Regions from separate parts of the Homo sapiens genome. Here all the other regions are linked to region 1. Evidence: promoter capture Hi-C in 16 types of primary human blood cells and fetal thymus (Javierre and others, 2016). All regions are on one chromosome and are shown on one strand. The core of a region is centred on a gene start or on the middle of the fragment in contact, and the rest is flanking DNA. Distances in the headings are between cores, read along the strand shown.

Evidence for each region. Contacts are between HindIII fragments. The CHiCAGO score rates a contact against its expected background, and 5 or more counts as called.
Region 2: a fragment that was not itself captured here is called in contact with the fragment with the promoter of GRAMD1B in region 1 in 1 of 17 cell types (fetal thymus); the score reaches 5.3 in fetal thymus.
Region 3: a contact is called between a fragment that was not itself captured here and the fragment with the promoter of GRAMD1B in region 1, in 2 of 17 cell types (fetal thymus and endothelial precursors). The highest score is 12.3, in fetal thymus.
Region 4: a contact is called between a fragment that was not itself captured here and the fragment with the promoter of GRAMD1B in region 1, in 4 of 17 cell types (fetal thymus, M0 macrophages, M2 macrophages and 1 more). The highest score is 10.0, in fetal thymus.

What each region holds. Positions count from the first base shown.
Region 1 is chr11:123,428,632-123,431,967 of GRCh38, forward strand. It overlaps GRAMD1B (GRAM domain containing 1B), which reads left to right and starts at 1,638. Exons shown (of 20, transcript NM_001387025.1): 1 at 1,638-2,535. The coding sequence starts at 2,162. LOC124902776 (a long non-coding RNA gene) reads right to left here and starts at 2,583. Exons shown (of 2, transcript XR_007062928.1): 1 at 2,316-2,583; 2 at 1-185. RefSeq lists silencers at 1,776-2,105, 2,216-2,265. The HindIII fragment of the contact is 5,032 bases long and covers 1-3,336 here.
Region 2 is chr11:123,058,161-123,061,496 of GRCh38, forward strand. It overlaps HSPA8 (heat shock protein family A (Hsp70) member 8), which reads right to left. Exons shown (of 9, transcript NM_006597.6): 2 at 2,960-3,169; 3 at 2,433-2,638; 4 at 1,956-2,108; 5 at 1,313-1,868; 6 at 899-1,101; 7 at 472-670; 8 at 92-324. The coding sequence starts at 3,164. SNORD14D (small nucleolar RNA, C/D box 14D) reads right to left here and starts at 835; the gene lies at 749-835. SNORD14C (small nucleolar RNA, C/D box 14C) reads right to left here and starts at 1,262; the gene lies at 1,175-1,262. The HindIII fragment of the contact is 172 bases long and covers 1,215-1,386 here.
Region 3 is chr11:123,085,361-123,088,696 of GRCh38, forward strand. The region is part of intron 2 of CLMP (CXADR like cell adhesion molecule); the gene reads right to left. Among named protein-coding and RNA genes, the nearest start is that of HSPA8, 25 kb to the left of the region's middle. The HindIII fragment of the contact is 2,767 bases long and covers 256-3,022 here.
Region 4 is chr11:123,104,219-123,107,554 of GRCh38, forward strand. The region is part of intron 1 of CLMP (CXADR like cell adhesion molecule); the gene reads right to left. Among named protein-coding and RNA genes, the nearest start is that of HSPA8, 44 kb to the left of the region's middle. The HindIII fragment of the contact is 4,616 bases long and covers 1-3,336 here.

The DNA.
Region 1 (3,336 bases), core at 388-2,887:
GCTTGGTAGATCCATAGCCAGCTGTCATCCTTGATGTCTTGCTGAACTGCAGGGATGTATTTACTTGCAGTGAATTCTTGTGATCTTTAGGGATGTGAATTTTCCTCAGCTTCGGGACACTTGTGAAATGTGACTTTTGTCCTGGCACGGAAGCTGGGCATTGGCTCCCAGATGGAAACTGGACTCTGAGAGAGGCAGAAAAGAAGGGTGGATCAGATTGTGGACTTCATGGTATGTTCTTGGGTGCTTCTCATGATCTCTTTGAAAGTTACTGACCAGGCTGGGCATGGTGGCTCATGCCTGTAATCTCAGCACTTTGGGAGGCCAAGGTGGGCAGATCACTTGAGGCCAGGAGTTTGAGACCAGCCTGGGCAATATAGCAAGACCTCATATCGACAAAAAGAAATAAAACTTAGCTGCGTGTGGTGGTGCGCACCTGTACTCCCAGCTACTCAGGAGGCTCAGCTGGGAGGACAGCTTGAGCCCAGGAATTCAAGGTTGCGGTGAGCCATGACTGCACCACTGCACTCCAGCCTGGGCAACAGAGTGAGACTTTGTCTCTTAAAAACAAAACAAAACAAAACAGTTACTGACCCAAGAGACAAATGCATTGGGCTGGGGTTGAAGGAGGAGAATGGCTGCTACAGCCCTGCTCTAGGAGCTGGGCTGGGTTAGACTCAGTGCCCACAGAGAGCACCTAAATAGGATGGATCGGTTCTAGGGTTGATGATCTCTTAGGGCCTGGGTCTAGAGAGTGAGTGTGGTTCAGCACATCTTGGGATGCTACCAGGACTGAACCAGACTTCCTAGGTTCCATGACATGGGGACATACTGGATTCTGTGACTCAGTCCATGGCAGGCTGAAGCAGAACTGAATCAGCCCTCAGCAATGTAAGGGGGGGTACCCTCGACTCCCTGGGGCTCTGTTGGATGCATTGCTTTGTGGGTGCTCACCGACTCCTCATTTCATTCTTTGCTAGGGACGCGGCTATGGTACTGGCAGCTGGCTCATGTACAGGGTTCAGGCCCCATTTTCCTTACTGGTCCTGTGTCCTTTGTCTCTCAGACCCTGTTGTCTGTCTTTCCTTGGTATGTCATGTCTGGTATCCTCAGCTCACGCCGCCACGGGAGAACTGTCCTCTTCTCAGCTTGTCATTTTGGAAGCAGCCTCCAGCAACCTTGCTTTCCTCCTCTGACTATACTCCGGCCTGCAGTGCCACTACTCACGCCCCCAAATAATTTAAACTGCCTTTCTTAGGAGACAAGAGCTAGTTGAAAAGTCTCCTCATTTTCCTTCAACCCTGTATCATGGGTGGCCTGAGAGAGTGAGGACTGAATTCATTGACTCCCCTTTCTCTGCACCCCCCACCCCCAAGGAAATAGCCGAGTTCGACTAATGGGAGTTGCCTGGCCAATCGTTGCCCTGAGAAAGTTTGGTTTGTGATCCTATTTCAGTAGGCTGATTGGAGCAGCCTTTACTTGGAGGTCGAGTCCCTCCCCGAGGGAATCCGTGTACAGTTACACTAGCGGTCGCTGCCAGTGCTAGCCCATTCAGGATAGCCCCCCTCACCCCGCCCCCAGCCCCCGCTCCTCCTCCTCCTTTTTTGTTTTTATCCAGTGTCTCGCTTCCTCTCTCTCTCTCTCTCTCTGTCTCTCTCTCCCTTTCCCTCCTACCACTGCCTCTTCCTCCCGCTCTCTACCTCCCTGCAGCGCCAAGCCGGCTCCCCAACCTGGTCTGCTGAACGCAAACCGCTGAGAGTTTGCTGCACCGCCCCCTGGGGCCCCTGGCTGCCGAGTCCCGCTAAGGCAAAGACGCCAGCAAGCGAGGAAGCGCAGCGGAAGAAAAACAAGCGGGCGCGCGAGGGGAGCCCCAGGAGGGCTGCCGAGTGGCTGGCAGGCGGCTCCCGCCCCTCCCGGGTGGCCTCGCCGGCGGCTGACGGCCCGGAGGACGCGCGCTCCGAAAAGTTAGACTCCGGGCGGCGGCGCGCTACGCCGCGTCCCCTCGCGTCCCTTCCTCGCTGCGCTCCGGGAAAGGAACTTGTTCCTTCGGCCCCAGGATTGGGGAGTGTGCCGCGGGGCCGAGGGTGGGGAACAGCCAGAGGGAGACGCGAACCAGGCCGCTGGCGGAGGGCTCAGGGGGAGCGCAGAGGCGACGGCCCCCATGCCGGCGGCCAACATGATGGAGAACCGGCCGCTGCCCGCCCTGCAGGTGCCCGAGCCGCAGGGTGCGCCCGAGGGCAGCCCGGTCTGGTCCAGTTCGTCGACCCCCACGCTTCGCCGCCGGCGCTTCAAGATGCGCCGCATGAAGAACGTACAGGAGCAGAGCCTGGAGGCCGGGCTGGCCCGGGACCTGCCCGCCGTCTTGGCCCCCGGCAAGGAGTTCCTGCAGCTGCCGTCCATCGAGATCACGCCCTCCAGCGACGAGGACACCCCGTGGTCCAACTGCTCCACACCCAGCGCGTCCCCGCGCCGAAAACGCTTCCTCCTCCGCAAGTGGCTGAGGGTGAGGGAGCGGAAGGAGTGCAGTGAAAGCAGGTACGTCCCCGTTCCGCCCGTCTCCTTCCCTTCCCTCCCGTCCTCTCCAGAGCCGTCCAGGGCCCCGGGGCATTCTGGGGGAAACGTCCTGGGGGAGAACAGGAGCCCGTCACCAGAGGCGCTTCTGGAGGGCGCTGCGCCTGGTCCCAGGGATGGTGGCATTCAGCTTCCACGCGTGCCACCCGCTCCCCAACTCAGGGTGAGGGGCTTCATGTTGCACGACACGTTTACGTGGGGCTTTACGCTGCATTCCATCTCCCTTGATCCTCGCAGCGAAATAAATAATAAAAATAATAACAGCTAATAGTTATTGAGCCCTTACCATGTGCGGGCCACTATGTTGCGCACTTCATGTACCTCCAGATTTCATCCCTACGCAAACTCTCTGAGGTAGGTATTACTATGGCTCCCTTTCTACAGAAGGAGATAGTAAAAGGCCAGAGAACAGTTAAGTGGTTTATATTTCAGGACTCCGTTTCAATCTTATTTTATGTTTGGCCACACCGGATTGCCTTAACTGGCTCACTTGTGTGGAAGTGAAATATTGACATTGAGTGAGTCACATTTCCTACCATATCAGAGTCTTTAGACATCGATACCTACAAGACTGTGGTTTGTACCAGCTAGTTTTTTGCCTAGGTCAATGTGGCATCTGGGTAATGGGAGAAGGTTGAGCTTCCCTCACGTAGAGAATTGCTGCAGGGCGCCCTAGAGCAGCTCTACACAGCCCTGGTCAGGACTGCTGCTTCAGGAAGTTGTGTCTGAGCCAAGCCCCTTGCCTGGTGGAGGGCAGGGAGTCCT
Region 2 (3,336 bases), core at 51-2,550, 370 kb before region 1:
ACCCTACACTGAAATCCAGCTCAAGCTTGGTTTACCATCCCCTTCCCCTCCATTGAGTGGGGGAGGAAAAAAAAAAAAAAAAAACACAAACCTGATTCTTATCAAGCCAGTTGATAATTTCATTACACTTGTCCAGAATCTTCTGTTTGTCCTCATCGTTAATCTTGCCTTGAAGTTTCTCATCTTCAACAGTTGCTTTCATGTTGAAGGCATAGGACTCAAGTGAATTCTTGGATGACACCTTGTCCCTCTGCTTCTCATCTTCAGCTTTGTACTTCTCAGCTTCCTGGACCATACGTTCAATGTCTTCCTTGCTCAAACGGCCTAGGAAAGAAATTAACTCTAAGTAAAAGCCTTAAATTACCTGTGTATGTGTAACTCTAGTTTCTCTTAGCTAGACGCCCTTAGGCACCAGTAACTCAATTGAAATACCATTATCCCTGTCAAGACCAGATGACAGTGCCTCCTTACCCTTGTCATTAGTGATAGTAATCTTGTTCTCTTTTCCCGTACTCTTGTCCACAGCAGAGACATTGAGTATACCATTGGCATCAATGTCAAAAGTGACTTCAATCTGAGGAACACCTCGGGGTGCAGGAGGTATGCCTGTGAGTTCAAACTTGCCAAGCAGGTTGTTATCCTTTGTCATGGCACGCTCGCCTTCATAAACCTTGGTAGGAAATAAAACAAATTACTACAATGGACTCCAGGTCTGTGACAGTGCTAGGGTCCTGCTAAGGAAGAATGGTCGCTCAAACATCCAAGGAAGGAACTGGCCAACATAAGACTTTCTGGTGGAAACTACGAATGGTTTTGGAATCCATCATCATAGCGAGTCAGTCAAGACTTCCCTTTATCTGTTATCAGTAAGCCAAACAAGAGAAGTACAGAAACATACCTGAATAAGCACACCAGGCTGGTTGTCAGAATAGGTAGTGAAGGTCTGTGTCTGCTTGGTAGGAATGGTGGTATTACGCTTGATGAGGACAGTCATGACTCCACCAGCAGTTTCAATACCAAGGGAAAGAGGAGTGACATCCAAGAGCAGCAAATCTTGAACATTCTCAGACTTGTCTCCAGACAAGATGGCTGCCTGGACAGCTAGCAAACAAAAAGTTAACGTTAAAAGAAGTTAAAAGAAAACCCAGTACATAGCTCCTGTTTTAACTATCACTCGCTCAGACATCCAAGGAAGGTGTTGCCATCATTAGCCAAGCTTTTGGTGGAAACTACGAATGTTTAACAATCACTCATCACAGCGAGTCACCTTGGGCCTGCCTGCCTTTAGGGTTAATTGAGATACCATTGTTACCTGCACCATAAGCAACAGCTTCATCAGGGTTGATGCTCTTATTCAGTTCTTTTCCATTGAAGAAGTCTTGGAGAAGCTTCTGAATCTTGGGGATACGAGTAGAACCACCAACCAGGACAATATCATGAATCTGTGACTTGTCTAGTTTGGCATCTCGAAGGGCTTTCTCTACTGGGTCCAGGGTGCCACGGAACAGGTCAGCATTCAGTTCTTCAAATCGGGCACGGGTAATGGAGGTATAGAAGTCGATTCCTTCATAGAGAGAATCGATCTCAATACTGGCCTGGGTGCTGGAAGAGAGGGTACGCTTAGCACGTTCACAAGCAGTACGGAGGCGTCTTACAGCTCTCTTGTTCTCACTGATGTCCTTCTTATGCTTGCGCTTAAACTCAGCAATAAAATGGTTGACCATTCGGTTGTCAAAATCTTCTCCACCCAAGTGGGTGTCTCCAGCTGTAGACTTGACCTCAAAGATTCCATCCTCAATAGTGAGGATTGACACATCAAAAGTGCCACCTCCCAGGTCAAAGATGAGCACGTTTCTTTCTGCTCCAACCTGCCGTTAAAAACAATCTCATTTAAATTTACGATGGATCAAATTAATCTTAAAATAATCCGAACTTGCATCACAAATGGTACATACCTTTTTGTCTAAGCCGTAAGCAATAGCAGCAGCAGTTGGCTCATTAATAATTCTAAGTACATTGAGACCAGCAATAGTTCCAGCATCTTTGGTAGCCTGACGCTGAGAGTCATTAAAGTAAGCTGGCACTGTGACCACAGCATTGGTAACAGTCTAGGAATAAGGAAAAGACCACAGATTGGTAACTATTATACTTACATATATGCAAACTCCAGCAAATGGATTAATGCTGGTGAAAGAACAGCTGGAGCACCCCCCCCACCAAAATGTAAATTACTGTGTAATTGTCAAGATTCACTGGTTTCTGGTGTTGACAGACCCATCTACCTAGAGAGCCTAGGGCACTGTTGGGCACGTGGTCTTAACCCTGAGCTGAGCCCCATCTGTTCCCCTCCCTCGCCAGGTGCCAGTGCCCCCGGGAGTCATCGGGCTTTTAACTACTCCGGAATGCACCCCATACTGAAAAACCAACCTCACCTTCCCAAGGTAGGCTTCTGCAATTTCCTTCATCTTTGTCAGAACCATAGAAGACACCTCCTCTGGATAGAAGCTTTTGGTCTCTCCCTTGTATTCTACTTGGACCTTGGGCCTGCCAGCATCATTCACCACCATAAAGGGCCAATGTTTCATATCAGACTGGACAACAGCATCATCAAATCTGCGTCCAATCAGACGTTTGGCATCTGTAAAAGGTGTCAAATGAAAACACTTTCAATTTCATAGCTCTTCTGATAAAACTCAAGTCCATGATTACTCAAATACCTAACAGTTCATAGGTAGGTGAATTCAACTACCATATAGGTAGCAAAGGTTCAAACTTCAACCTCCTACGTTATCCAGATTTCAGCCTGAAAGGTTTCTACAACCTGTTTTATAACAGACTTGATAACAAGTCTCTCAGCTCAGTTTTTCTAAAATCAAAAAGTTCCCTCCTCACGTTTCATAAACTTTTGTGCTTCCTAGCCCTGTTATATTTGTTCTGTCATTTAAAATTAGGAACTCACCAAAAACTGTGTTGGTGGGGTTCATTGCAACTTGATTCTTTGCGGCATCACCGATCAACCGTTCAGTGTCCGTAAAGGCGACATAGCTTGGAGTGGTTCGGTTTCCCTGATCATTGGCAATTATCTCGACTTTTCCGTGCTGGAAAACACCCACACAAGAGTAGGTGGTGCCAAGATCAATACCAACTGCAGGTCCCTTGGACATGGTTGCTGAAAAAAAGAAAAATCTGGTTTAAAAATTCAATTAATCAAAATATTTCCCTCATCCCTTAACAGAACACTTAACCAGGAAAAACGTATGGCCACTGCCAAGAGGTAATAGTGCCCATCACCTCCTGTCTAAGCACGCGCGAGGTCCAGAACTAGTGCTGCAGTCC
Region 3 (3,336 bases), core at 389-2,888, 340 kb before region 1:
GCCTCAGCCTCCTGAGTAGCTGGGATTACAGGTGTACACCACCATGCCCGGCTAACTTTTGTATTATTGGTAGAGACAGGGTTTCGCCATGTTGGCCAGGCTGGTCTTGAACTCTTGGCCTCAGGTGATCCACCCTCCTTGGCCTCCCAAAGTGCTGGGATTACAGACATGAGCCACCACGCCTGGCCTGCCTTCCATTCTATTCCTGAATAAGAAATAAGATAGCTACAAAGATAAAAAAAAAAAAAAAAAAAAAGCTTACAGTACTCCTGCACAATTTGCCCACAAGGTGACTGCTTGTGGACAAAGGACAGACAGAACTCACAGTTACCCCTCTGCACACATGAGATAAATGCATATCTGATTGCTTCCTTTGCCCTATTTCACTAAGCCGAACTAATTTTTTATGTTTTTTTTTTTTTGTTTTTTTTTTGAGATAGAGTCTCACTCTTGTCGCCCGGTCTGGAGTACAATGGTGCGATCCTGGCTCACTGCAACCTCTGTCTCCTGGGTTCAAGCAATTCTTCTGCCTCAGTCTCCTGAGTAGCTGGGATTACAGATGCATGCCACCATGACTCGCTCATTTTTGTATTTTTAGTAGAGCTGGGGTTTCTCCATGTTGGCCAGGCTGGTCTTGAACTCCTGACCTCAGATGATCTGCCTGCCTCAGCCTCCCAAAGTGCTGGGATTACAGGTGTGAGCCACTGCGCCTGGCCCTAATTTTTTATTTTAGTAGAGATGGGGTTTCACCATTCTGGCCAGGCTGGTCTCAAAGTCCTGACCTCAGGTGATCCACCCTCCTCGGCTTCCCAAAGTGCTGGGATTACAGGTGTGAGCCACTGCGCCTGGCAAATCTCTTCTTTGGTTCAAGTGATTTATAATCAAGTGAGATTAACAAGGAAAGACTATTAAACAGAGAAAAAGAAATGATTTATTTGAAATAGTATCAAGGAGAGTGTCCCAGACAAGTTGGTGGCATTTGAGCTAGGCTTTGAGAGGCAAGGAGAAAAGGCCTGGAGGGAGCATTCCAGCTACACAGAAGGGCACTAAAAAAGGCATGCAAGCATATGGGCATCTCCCAGGCACATTTCAGCTGCAGCTGTTCCAAATTGTTTCACTCAAGCCCTCAACCCTGCCTTTGATCACGTGTTGCTCCACAGCTCTTCAGAGCCTTTCCTGAGAAGGTTCTCTCAATCAGATAAAACCTATGAACTCTGACCCAGAAAAAACTCACATATTATTTTGCAGATAATTCCATGGGGTTCCTAGCACTCAAGGGAAAGCCCTCTGCTTTAGGCACAGATGGGGAAGAGCTAGGATCACAGCCCTTCTCCTGGATGTGGTACTTGTTTGTTCTAAATATTTGTGGGGGCCAGATGCGTGGTGGTTCACGCCTGTAATCCAAGCACTTTGGGAGACCAAGGCTGGTGGTTTGCTTGAGCCCAGGAGGTTGAGGCTATAGTGAGCCAAGACTGCGCCACTGTACTCCAGCCTGGGTGACAGAGTGAGACCCTGTCTCAACAAATAAAATTTAAAAAAAGAAAAAAATGTAACTGGGTGCGGTGGCTCACAACTGTAATCCCAGCATTTTGGGACGCCAAGGCAAGCAGATCACTTGAAGTCAGGAGTTTGAGACCAGCCTGGCCAACATGGTGAAACCCTGTCTCTACTAAAAAATACAAAAATTAGACAGGTGGCCTGACGTGGTGGCTCACGCCTATAATCCCAGTCCTTTGGGAGGCCGAGGTGGGCAGATCACCTGAGGTTGGGAGTTCAAGACCAGCCTGACCAACATGGTGAAACCCCGTCTCTACTAAAAATACAAAATTAGCCGGGCGTGATGGCGCATGCCTATAATCCCAGCTACTCGGGAGGCTGAGGCAGGAGAATTGCTTGAACCCGGGAGGCGGAGGTTGCAATGAGCCAAGATCACGGCATTGCACTGCAGTCTGAGCAACAAGAGCGAAACTCCGTCTCAAAAAAAAAAAGAAAGAAAGAAAAAACTAGGTGTGGTGGTGTGCGCCTGTAAACCCAGCTACTCAGGAGGCTGAGGCAGCAGAATCACTTGAACCTGGGAGGCAGAGATTGCAGTGAGTGGAGATTATGCCACTGCACTCCAGCCTGGGCAACATAACAAGATTCTGTCTCAAAAAAATAAAATGAAATAAATAAATATTTGCGGCTCGGTGCAGTGGCTCATGCCTGTAATCCCAGTACTTTGGGATGCCGAGGCGGGTGGATCACGAGGTCAAGAGATCGAGACCATCCTGGCCAATATGGTGAAACCCTGTCTCTACTAAAAATACAAAAATTAGCTGGGTGTGGTGGCATATGCCTGTAGTCCCAGCTACTAAAGAGGCTGAGGCAGAAGAATCGCTGGAACCCAGGAGGCAGAGGTTCCAGTGAGCCAAGATCATGCCACTGCACTCCAGCCTAGGGACAGAGTGAGACTCTGCCTCAAAACAAGACAAAACAAAACAGAAAAATGTTTGTAGGGTGTTGTTGGCCCCACATCCTGTTGTACTCTGTAGGGTAGGTTTCGTTTTGTTTCTTTTTTTTTTTTCTTTGAGACGGAGTTTCACTCTTTTTGCCCAGGCTGGGGTGCAATGGCATGATCTTGGCTCACCACAACCTCCGCCTCCCGGGTTCAAGTGATTCTCCTGCCTCAGCCTCCTGAGTAGCTGGGATTACAGGCATGTGCCACCAGGCCCAGCTAATTTTGTATTTTTAGAAGAGATGGGGTTTCTCCACGTTGGTCAGGCTGGTCTCGAACTCCTGACTTCAGGTGATCTGCCCGCCTCGGCCTCCCAAAGTGCTGGGATTACAGGTGTGAGCCACCATGCCCAGCTGGAAGGGTAGGTTTCTTGGCAGGTGATAGAGCTGACTTAGTAATGCAAAATTGCTGGGATAGTTGGAAAAGAAGGAAATGCGTTCACAACAGGAAAAAACTGGAAGCTGTAGAGTTTGTCTCCATTCAAAGACTGAAAGTAAGGGGGCCTTACACCTGGAGATAAGGCAGGTAAGCTTGGAACACTTACTAGGTGCTCTGTTAATGTTTCTCTTTCTTTCTGATTTGTCCATATTTCCCCCAGATGCATAATCACCTACAATGAAGTCAGTTTGTACTTTCTAGGAGAATGAAGAGAGGCAAAACCTACAAGACAGTGAAGCACTGGGTAATTTTTAGGAACTTTGGGGTTTTGTGGGCTTTGACAGGTGGGTGACCTTTTTGGCCTGAGAGCTTTGGAATTTCTTTCTTGTTTATTTTATTTATTTATTTTTGAGATGGAGTTTCACTCTTGTTGCCCAGGCTGGAGTGCAGTGGCGTAATCTCCA
Region 4 (3,336 bases), core at 573-3,072, 320 kb before region 1:
CTGGGATTACAGGGTTGCACCACCCACCGAGCTATTTTTTTTAGTAGAGATGGGGTTTCTCCATGTTGACCAGGCTGGTCTCAAACTCCTGGCCTCAAGTGATCTGCCCGCCTCAGCCTCCCAAAGTCTAGGATTACAGGCATGAGCCACCGCGCCCGGTCCTGGGTTCTATTTTTTTTTTCCCCAGACGGAGTCTCGCCCTGTTGCTCAGGCTGGAATGCAATGGCGTCATCTCAGCTCGCTGTAACCTCCGCCTCCCAGGTTCAAACGATTCTCCTGCCTCAGCCTTTCAAGTAGCTGGGATTACAGGCAGGCGCCACCATGCTCAGCTAATTTTTTGTATCTTTAGTAGAGACGGGGTTTCACCATGTTGGCCAGGCTCGTCTCGAATTCCTGACCCCTTATGATCCACCCGCCTCAGCCTCCCAAAGTGCTGGGATTACAGGTGTGAGCCACCGCGTCCGGCCTCTGTCTTTAACTCCAAGGCTTAGCAGTGCTCATGGGGGCTGCTGAGCTTGTCTGCCATCTGATGGGTGAGAGGAAAGGGGCAGTCTGACCATCCTGTGGCTAGCCTTGGATTGCGTGGGCACTGGAAGATTCATCTTTGTTAGGAAAGACTTTAGAGATCATCAGTTTAACTTATGAGGAGATTGCACCCCAGAGAATTGAGATGTCACGTCACAAAACTAATTAGTGGCAGAATTGCAAGTAAGGGAATAGTCTCTGCTAGGATTCTGTTGCAGCATTTACCTATGGGAAGAGGTGCTGAGTGGTGGCAGTGGTAAGGACTGCCTCCTTAGGCACAGGCAGAATGCCTTCAGGGAAGCCGCAAGCTCTCCCTAAGTGGGAGCTTTTGCATGCACCTCAGGCACTTATCAAAGGACCTCTGGGAGCTTGAGAAAATTACCTTCTGAGCCTTAGTGTTTCCATCCGCAAAATGGGAATTAAAGAAGACACTGAGGAAAGCAGCTAGCATTGTGAAAGCACATAGGAGTCTCCCATTAAAATGTTAGTTCTCTTCCCCTGCTCATCTCTGCTAGAAGGGACTTTTTCTCACATGACTGCTGCCTACACTCAATTAAGAGTAGTTTAAAGTTTTATCCTCTAAAAGGTATTTACATTTATTTCCTTCCCTTCCCTCCCTCCCTCCCTCCCTCCCTCCCTCCCTTCCTTCCTTCCTTCCTTCCTCTCTCTCTCTTTCTTTCTTCTTTTCTTTCTTTCTTTTTTTTTGAGATGGAGTCTTGCTCTGTCGCCCAGGCTGGAGTGCAGTGGCACAATCTTGGCTCACCACAACCTCCGCCTCCTGGGTTCAAGCGATTCTCCTGCCTCAGCCACGTGAATAGCTGGGATTACAGGCATGCGCCACCACACCTGGTTAATTTTGTATTTTTAGTAGAGACAGGGTTTTGCCACGTTTGTCAGGTTTGTCTCAAACTCCTGACCTCAGGTGATCTGCCTATCTTGGACTCCCAAAGTGCTGGGATTATAGGTGTGAGCCACTGTGCCAAGCCGTATTTACATTTTCTCATAGATTCTCCTGAACCTTAAGACCCCCTTCAAAGAGATGGGCAGGAGGAACTGTGGTTTTTGTTTGTTTGTTTTTTGTTTTTTTTTTTTTGAGACAATCTTGCTCTGTCACCCAGGCTGGAGTACAGTAGCGCAATCTCAGCTCACTGCAACCTCCGCCTCCCGGGTTCCAGCGATTCTTGTGCCTCAGCCTCCCGAGTAGCTGGGATTACAGGCCCACGCCACCACGCCTGGCTAATTTTTGTATTTTTAGTAGAGACGGGGTTTCACCATGTTGGCCAGGCTGGTCTCGAACTCCTGACCTCAGTGATCCACCCACCTCAGACTTCTGAAGTGCTGGAATTACAGCTGTGAGCCACCATGCCCTGCTATTATGAGATTTTATTGTGATTTTATTCTATTTTTTTTTTTAGCTCATCAGCTGTTGTTAGTGTATTTTATGTGTGGCCCAAGATAATTCTTCTTCTTCCAGTGTGGCTCAGGGAAGCAAAAAGATTGGACACTCTTGAACAGTTTATTAAATTTGTATGCCTTTTCTCCTATTAATCTGCCTCTTGTCAGTGCTTTTCAATGAACCTTCAGCGGGCAGACGGGAAGTTTTCCCTTCACCCCAGCTACATATATAATTCTGTAGGAGGTGTGTGTGTGTGTGTGTGTGTGTGTGTGTGTGTGTGTGTGTGCGCGCGCGCGCGCGCACGTGCCTGCCTTCCAGATTGTTTATGGAACACTGTATGCAGTTCAAGACACAGCATGATGCAATAGAAAGAGGATGAGCTTTGGAGTCTGAGAGGTCTGGACTTGAGTAGTGGCTGTAAGACCAATTAATTCCCTGATTGCTCCAAGTTGTTTACTTTTCCGTAAAAGGAAAATAAAAACATCAACTTTGGAAGTTATTGTAAGCATTACATATGATGCATGAAAGTGTCTAGCACTGGCGCATGGTATGTAGCACACACTCAGCAAATGGCAACTACTATTAATAATTGTACTTGTGGCTGGGTGCAGTGGCTCACGCCTGTAATCCCAGCACGTTGGGAGGTCGAGGTGGGCGGATCACGAGGTCAGGAGATCGAGACCATCCTGGCTAACACAGTGAAACCCCGTCTCTACTAAAAATACAAAAAATTAGCCCGGCGAGGTGGTGGGCGCCTGTAGTCCCAGCTACTCGGGAGGCTGAGGCAGGAGAATGGTGTGAACCCGGGAGGCGGAGCTTGCAGTGAGCCGGATTGAGCCACTGCACTCCAGCCTGGGCGACAGAGCGAGACTCCGTCTCAAAAAAAAAAAAAAATAATAATAATAATAATTGTACTTGCTGCATTTTTTTTTTTTGAGACAGGGTCTCAGATGCTCTTTCTGCCAGGCTGGAGTGCAGTGGCACAATCATAACTCACTGCAGCCTGAACTCCCTGGGCTCAAGTGATCCTCCCACCTCAGCCTCCCAAGTAGCTGGGACTATAGGCTTTCACCACCATGCCTGGCTAATGAAATTTTTTTTTTTTAATTTAGACGGAGTCTCACTCTGTCACCCAGGCTGGAGTGCAGTGGCGTGATCTCAGCTCACCGAAACCTCGGCCTCCTGGGTTCAAGCGATTCTCCTGCCTCAGCCTTGTGAATAGCTGGGATTATAGGCGCATGCCACCACATCTGGCAAATTTTCGTATTTTTAGTAGAGATGGGCTTTCACCGTGTTGGCCAGGCTGGTCTCAAAGTCCTGACCTCAGGTGATCCTCCCACTTCAGCCTCCCAAAGTGCTGGGATTACAGGTGCGAGCCACCGCACCTGACCTAAATTTTTTTTTTTTTTTTTTTC